Regions from separate parts of the Homo sapiens genome. Here regions 2 and 3 are each linked to region 1. Evidence: promoter capture Hi-C in human tissues and cell types (Jung and others, 2019). All regions are on one chromosome and are shown on one strand. Each heading gives the region's core, a stretch centred on a gene start or on the middle of the fragment in contact. The rest is flanking DNA. Distances are from core to core; before and after follow the strand shown.

Region 1 (2,541 bases), core at 20-2,519:
GGCCAAGGTGGGCCCAGACAGGACCAGGTGTGCTATGGTCCTCACAGCAGCCAGGAGGGTGGAAATCCCCGGGGAGCCCCGGCCCAGGGTCCCCACTCCCCACGCGGGGGACCTGTACGCACCCCAGCTTCAGGGCTTCTGCTGCCTGAACACGAGGTCAAGGTATGGAGGGCGCAGCTGGCACCCGTAGTAACGACTTCATGGGGCCCCTGCCCTGCAGCCTGCCCCCTCCTCCCGCCCCCTTAAAAGGCCTCTGTCTTAAAAAAGAGGACCCCCATACTGGTGGCTGGAGTTTCGCTGTGTCAGGAGGCTGGGCAGAAGCGGTGGGCACCCTGGGAGGAGTGAGGGCCCAGGACAGCGCCTCCACTCGCTTCTCTGTCTAGGCTCCTGGGGGCGGGGGAAGGTGGCCGAGCAGCAGAGTTCGGCTGGCAGAGCCAGTCGAAAGGAGGCCGCCCACCCACCCGCGGAGAGAAGGGGTTAGGGCCGGCAGCCCCCGCAGACCCTGGCTGAGCCTGTTTCCCCAGACCCACGGGGCACCGGCCAGCGCCCGCTGACAACTTTTCTACCGCCTGGAAAAGTCCAGAACAACTCGGGGGCGGGGAGCGGGCGCGGGAGCGGACCCCGGCGGCGGGCGCTGTACGCGTGGCACTGTTTACGCGAGCGGCCCGGGAGGCGCGGCCGCGGGAAGATGGCGACGGCGAGGGCGGGGCCGGCCGGGCGGGGCTGCGGCCGCGGCCTGCGCGCCTCCTCCTCCAGGCTGGCCGCCGGGGCGCGCGGCGGCGGCGCTGAGGGCCGCGGGCCGGGAATCGGGGCCCGGAGAGCACGCTCCGGGCGGGGGCGGGGGTTCGGACCGGGCCGGGCGGGGTCGGGAGCGGGGGGCGGTACCTGTTGTTCGGGGCCTTGCGCACCAGGCCGGCCGCCTTTGTTTTCTCCCTGGCGAAGTCGCCGTCGAAGGGCAGCACCGAGGCGTAGCCGTGCTCGGCCTCTGCGGACACACGGCGCGGTCAGCGGCCCCCGCCCGGCACGGCCCCGCCGCCCGCCCACCGCCGCGGGCGCACAATGGGGTGCGAGCGCTACCTCGATCCCTGCGCTCCAGGTACTCGGCCGCCTCCAGCAGGATCAGCAGGGAGTTCAGCTCCATCCTCCCGCCCGCGCCCGTCCGCCCCGGGACGGCGGCGGCCGCTGCCCGGCCCGCTCCGGCCGGCTCCGCTCGCCGCCCACCCCGCGCGCCCGGCCGCCGCACTTCCAGACTCCGCGGACTCCGGCGCTCGGCCGCCACCCTCCGCCTCAGGCCCTCAAATTGACACATAAGGGAGAGCGGCGGCCCGCAGAGCCAATGGGAGGCGGCGTTCGCGCCCCGGGGGCGGGCGCCGGGCCGGGCTGGGGCCAATGGGGACGGGTCGAGCGCCTCGGGCCGGGCCGAGAATGTTGACAGATGCAGAGCTGGGCTGGGATAGGCCGGCCGCGCTAGTAACAATTTAGAAGCCCGAGCTTAGCAACAGCACGTGGTGGCCCGGCCCCCGCGCTAGCTGACTGGCGGCCGCCGTGCATGTTAAGTAGGCGCCGCGCGCCGATTGGCCAGAGCGGCCTATGTAAAACAGGCACTGCGAGCCAATGGCCGGTGGCGGGGCGCGCGGCCAATGAGGGCGCCGCAGCCGGACGCGTTGCCGAGAGGAAGCGCAGCGCGCGGGGACCGCCCGCCGTCCTGGGGGCCCGTTAGGACGCAGGAGCGTCTCCGCTACGAGAGCGAAGCAGGGCGCTCCGGGGCGTGCGCCGGGCCGGGCCGGGCCGCCGGGTCTGAGCGCGACGAAAGCAGTGGCTGCGTGGGGGGACGAGGCCTCGCGCTCTGCCCGGGGGTCTTGCGTGGGGCCGTGAACGACTCCCCTCCCCGCCGGGCGCAGAGTGGCCCCGGGAAGGGCCGGGACCTCGGAGAGGGACGCAGACGCTCTGATCCTAAGAGCCAGGCGTCTCTGAGGGTGTCAGTGGGGAAACAGGCCCAGAGCGGGCGGGCTCCTCAGATCGCCCAGTGGACGCCGGAGCTGAGGGAGGGCCCAGGTCTGGGGAAGGGACACAGACGTGCGGCCAGAGTCGAGAGGCTCCCCGGAGTGGGGGGCTGCATGCTCTGTGTCTGGCCTGAGGGGCAGGGACGTTCCTAGAGGCAGGCGCTGGCCACCTCTGGCCGAGGACGCCCTAAGTGGGGACGGGAGTGAACCCTTCATCAAATCCCAGCTGGCGGGTCTCCCTAGTGACCCCTGACCCTAAGGCTGGCCCAGACTGGCCTCGGCACCCCCCACCCTCTCGCAGATTTTTTTTTTTTTTTTTTTTGAGACGGCTCTGTTGCCCAGGCTGGAATGCAGTGGCGTGATGTCAGTTCACTGCAACCTCCGCCTCCCGGGTTCAAGCGATTCCCCTGCCTCAGCCTCCCAAGTAGCTGGGACTACAGGCGCGTGCCACCACGCCCAGCTAATTTTTGTATTTTTAGTAGAGATGGGGTTTCACCATGGATGGTCTGGATCTCCTGACCTCGTGATCCGCCCGCCT
Region 2 (2,541 bases), core at 12-2,511, 690 kb after region 1:
TTCAGTACTTGGCTCCCACCTTGGGTTTTTCCTTTTTGTCTCTGTTCTCTGACTTGGGAGTTTTGTGGGACAGGAGAGTCTGAATTTCTTTCCAGTCTTGGTCTAGCTTCTCCGTGAGCTCGAGGGCATCTTCTCGTTGAGCTTGTCTCTCCCTCTGGGGAAAAAATAACAGACACACACCACATACCGTTACTACTGGACTTCAACCCAGAGGCCCAATGTCAGTGCCAAGGACACACACAGTGATCACTCAGTTGGCACCAAACGTTTCAACACAGAAAAGAGGCCAGGAGAAATGAGTATTTTAAATGCAAAGCTACCAAATCTCATCAGACGGAAATCTTTTCCTGCCATAAACCATTAATTTAGATGCTCTGAGCAGTTCACTGCAAATGAATAAAAAAGTGATTTTTTGGGCACATGTCAGATACTAAAACCAGCAACAACAAAAAACCCATCCGCGCCAGGTGCAGTGGCCCACCCTGTGCTTTAGAACTAGGCCAAGGTGGGAGAACTGCTTGAGCCTGGTCGACACAGCACGATCCCCATCTCTACAAAAAGTAATTAGCTGAGCATGGTGGCGCCCACTAGCTACTTGGGGAGCTGAGGTGGGAGGATCACTGGATCCTTGAGCCCAGGAGTTTGAGGCCACAGTGAGCTTTGATCGTGCCACTGTACTCCAGCCCGGGAAACAGAGACTACGTCTCAAAATAAAACAAAACATAAACCAAAAAAAGGCAAAAGAACCAAAACCTGTCCGAGGTATATGCTTTATGTGATTTTTAAAATTCCTACTCACAATAAATGCTTTTACTGAACTCATATAAAATATTAAACACAGCCTAAAAAGGTACAGGAAAAAAAAGCTCAAACACATTTTGGTGAGCCTGTCTTACCGTGGAGAAGATGATCAAGAACACTCACTAACCCACCTTCTCTTGTTTTGACTTGGCAATGAGCTCTTCAATCAGCTCTTTCCGGGACTTCGGTTTCTCCCGCTCCTCGCCTTCCTGTTGAGTCTTCTTGTGAAGGAGCCCACCGCCTCCTCCAAAGTGGGCAGCAGTCAGCTCAGCTGGGGGCAAAAGGCAGAAAACCCCACAGTGAAGCCCAGCCCTGGCGTGGGAAGTGTTTCCTGTAGCACTCTGCCAGTGCTTCCCCCATAGTGGTCTGGAAAAGTCCACATTTGAGAAAAAAATGCTCACACGCAACAGCCTGGCCTGAGACCACAGGCACAATGGCACTTGAGAAATACCCAAGGTAAGCCACTCTGAGAAAACCCAGACCCATTACACTCCCAACTGGCCGTAACCCAAGTGGCTGGAAACACCCAGCACCTATTTTTGATTGTGCTGGTTCTAGCGAAGACTGGCAAACCCAGAGCAAGCTGACTCCAGGGTCTTGGTGGGAGCGTCGCCCAGGATCAGTGGTGCAATCTGTGTCCCTCCCACCTCCCTGGGCAGGGCCTGGAGACTCTAGTCACCTGTACCACGGCGCCCCCTCTAGTCACCTGCACGCCACGGCGCCCCCTCTAGTCACCTCCACGCCACGGCGCCCCCTCTAGTCACCTGCACGCCACGGCGCTCCCTCTAGTCACCTGCGCCACGGCGCCCCCTCTAGTCACCTGCGCCACAGCGCCCCCTCTAGTCACCTGCACCCCACGGCGCCCCCTCTAGTCACCTGCACGCCACGGCGCCCCCTCTAGTCACCTGGACCACGGCGCCCCCTCTAGTCACCTGCACGCCACAGCGCCCCCTCTAGTCACCTGCACCACGGCGCCCTCTAGTCACCTGCACCACAGCGCCCCCTCTAGTCACCTGCACGCCACGGCGCCCCCTCTAGTCACCTGCACGCCACGGCGCCCCCTCTAGTCACCTGGACCACGGCGCCCCCTCTAGTCACCTGCACGCCACGGCGCCCCCTCTAGTCACCTGCACCACGGCGCCCTCTAGTCACCTGCACCACAGCGCCCCCTCTAGTCACCTGCACGCCACGGCGCCCCCTCTAGTCACCTGCACCACAGCGCCCCCTCTAGTCACCTGCACGCCACGGCGCCCCCTCTAGTCACCTGCACGCCACGGCGCCCCCTCTAGTCACCTGCGCCACAGCGCCTCCTGGCAATGAGGGGAAGGCCACTCGCCCAACTCACACCAAGGCAGTTACCTCCAGTCTCGGGGAATTAGGATCTCCCCAGGGAATGCGTTTTATAGCTAAGGGTCCACGAGAAGTCTTGAACAATGAAAAGAGCAAAGACAAAGGCACAGAGGGGTTAAAATAACTGGCCATTCTCTTCACGCCCGTGAAGCCGAGCAGTGGCGGGGCCTCCTGGTGTGCCGCAGATGGCGGGTTCTGCACCACATGCTTGCTGCCCTAATTCCTAAGCCTTTTACCCCCTGGATTAGCCAAATATCAGAAGGCAGCCCCAGGCTTTAACGCCTTAACTTTCACACACTGACAAGACAAAGCTTTGAGAGTCAGTTTTAGATTTGTACACCTTTGTTCTGAAGATGCTGGAAATGGGACCTACTTTAACTTACAAGAAAT
Region 3 (2,541 bases), core at 21-2,520, 610 kb after region 1:
GGTGTGGTGATGTGGGCCTGTAGTCTCAGCTATGCAGGAGGCTGAGGCAGTGGGATGGCTTGAGAGCCCACAAGTTCCAGGCTGTAGTGAGCTATGATTGCACCACTGCATTCCAGCCTGGGTGGCAGAATAAGGCTCTGTCTCAAAAACAAAGAGAAAAAAGATTCCACTGAGGTCATTAGTTCGTTTATTCTATGTTGATGTTTAGTCCCCCAATTGTTTTCATGTTTTGCCTTTAAGTTCTCGAAGTAGTGGCTGGGGGCGGTGGCTAACGCCTATAATCCCAGCACTTTGAGAGGCCTAGGCGGGCGGATCACCTGAGGTCAGGAGTTCGAGACCAGCCTGGCCAACATGGTGAAACGCCGTCTCTACTAAAAATACAAAAATTACCCGGGTGTGGTGGCACGTGCCTGTAATCAAAGCTACTCGGGAGGCTGAGGCAGGAGAATCACTTGAACCTGGGAGGCGGAGGTTTCAGTGAGCCGAGATCATGCCACTGCACTCCAGAATGAGCGACAGAGTGAGACTGTCTCAAAAAAAAAAAAAAAGAAAGAAATACTGCCACTTTAAGCATATTTTTATCTTATCTTTACATTTAGAACAGAAATATCAAATTGATCTTTTTCTTAAAAAAAAACACTAATTTCTTCAACTGATTCTTTGGTTATTGGTTCCACAATAAAAATATCTTTTTTGCATAATAAACTCTACTTTATAGGCTTGTTATCCAAAGTGCGGTTCAAGTTCAGCAGCATTGGTATCACTTGGGAATTGATGAGACATGCAGAATTTCAGGCCCCACTCCAGACCTAATGAATCTTAATTTGTGTATTAATTCAATTCCCAGGTGGTTCATATGCACATTTGAAAGCTAACAGGGCGTGGTGGCTCATGCCTGTGATCCCAGCACTTTGGAAGGCCAAGGTGAGAGGATTGCTTGAGGCCAGGAGTTTGAGACCAGCCTCTGCAACTCAGGGATACCCCCATCTCTACAAAATTTTTAAAAAATTCGCCGGGCATGGCGGTGCACGCTGATAGTCCCAGCTGCTTGGGAGGCTTAGGTGGAAGGATCACTTGAGCCTGGGAGGTTGAGGTTGCAGTGAGCTGTGACTGGGCCACTGCCCTCCAGCCTCGGTGGCAGAACAAGACCCTGTTCCCCTCCCCCCGAGAAAAGAATGTAATGTCAGTAGCCATATTCACAGAATTTTAAATTTGAGCCATCTTGGCATGTTAGGTTATTAACAAACTGAGCATCTTGACCTCAAATTGCTGGTACCTGCCATTGTTCTTTTAACCAGAAAGGAGCTGTTAGGGAGGAACATTTACCATTTTGTGAGTTATGTGTGAGTGGCTTCTCTTCTGTTGATCTGTTTGTGGGATCCTTTGCAAAACCACTGCTGGTACCTTATGGGAAAAAAAATCAGAAATCAAATTTCTTTTGGAATAAACTGTGCTGTTCTTAGCAGATCTTGTCTGTGTGGAACAAATCATGTCTGTAAAGAATCACGTGGTCAAAAGTTTAATATTTAGTTCTTTTTGGATTTGTCAGAGGACTTAATTGCTTTGTTAGATTGTTGTCTTGTTCTCCTCTTTGGAACAATGGCTAGGACAAAACACAGCATTGGTTAGTGGGAGGGTGGGAGGTGGTTGATCAGCCATGTGCCTCTGAGGCCACAAAGAAGCCTCACAGGTCATGGTTTCCACTGTCAGTTGGTCATTACATCCTCCTGTTGAAGATTGTGTTTACCAAGCTCATGTGCTCATCATGAAACACTGTTAGACATTGATTTGAAAACAATAATTTCTTTTATTTTGATTCTGTAGGAACCTAGAAAGATTGTACAATGAATGGTGATTCTCGTGCTGCGGTGGTGACCTCACCACCCCCGACCACAGCCCCTCACAAGGAGAGGTACTTCGACCGAGTAGATGAGAACAACCCAGAGTACTTGAGGGAGAGGAACATGGCACCAGACCTTCGCCAGGACTTCAACATGATGGAGCAAAAGAAGAGGGTGTCCATGATTCTGCAAAGCCCTGTGAGAAGAGAAGTCTTTTCTCTGACCAGATGTCATCTTTCCTTTTCTAATACTTCAGGTCTTATGCCCTGTTGTATGAGTGGCATAGTTCATTGATCTTATCACAGGAAATCAGTGCCTTGAGTATACGTATATGGTTGTTGAAAGAATTCAGTTCAGTTCATGTTATCAGACATCATAAATGAAAAATCTTCAGTGTCGTAAAGGATAGGAAGTGTTAATTTCTCCTTTTTACTCTTGTGACTTTTCTAGAGGGTCCTTATATATTGGGGCAATTTTTAAATTACAATTAAAAAAATACCTAGCTTAGGCTGGGTGCGTCGGCTCAAGCTTGTAATCCCAGCACTTTGGGAGGCCGAGGTGGGTGGATCACTTGAGGTCAGAAGTTCGAGACCAGGCTGGCCATCACGGTGAAACCCTGTCTCCATTAAAAATACAAAAATTGGCCAGGCGCGGTGGCTCACGCCTGTAATCCCAGCACTTTGGGAGGCCAACATGGGTG

The links. Contacts are between HindIII fragments. The study calls those that stand out against the background at their distance.
Region 2: a fragment that was not itself captured here is called in contact with the fragment with the promoter of MXD4 in region 1 in 1 of the 25 tissues and cell types used here (spleen).
Region 3: a contact is called between a fragment that was not itself captured here and the fragment with the promoter of MXD4 in region 1, in 1 of the 25 tissues and cell types used here (dorsolateral prefrontal cortex).

What each region holds. Positions count from the first base shown.
Region 1 is chr4:2,260,840-2,263,380 of GRCh38, forward strand. It overlaps MXD4 (MAX dimerization protein 4), which reads right to left and starts at 1,270. Exons shown (of 6, transcript NM_006454.3): 1 at 1,078-1,270; 2 at 886-985. The coding sequence starts at 1,141. RefSeq lists enhancers at 1-389, 1,621-2,282, 2,283-2,541 and silencers at 490-549, 560-949, 1,040-1,099, 1,150-1,989. The HindIII fragment of the contact is 28,165 bases long and covers 1-2,541 here.
Region 2 is chr4:2,953,492-2,956,032 of GRCh38, forward strand. NOP14 (NOP14 nucleolar protein) reads right to left here. Exons shown (of 18, transcript NM_001291978.2): 4 at 933-1,072; 5 at 20-154. Among named protein-coding and RNA genes, the nearest start is that of NOP14, 8.6 kb to the right of the region's middle. The HindIII fragment of the contact is 8,016 bases long and covers 1-2,541 here.
Region 3 is chr4:2,874,072-2,876,612 of GRCh38, forward strand. It overlaps ADD1 (adducin 1), which reads left to right. Exons shown (of 16, transcript NM_001354761.2): 2 at 1,825-2,039. The coding sequence starts at 1,845. Among named protein-coding and RNA genes, the nearest start is that of ADD1, 31 kb to the left of the region's middle. RefSeq lists enhancers at 545-1,072, 1,073-1,598. The HindIII fragment of the contact is 5,115 bases long and covers 1-2,541 here.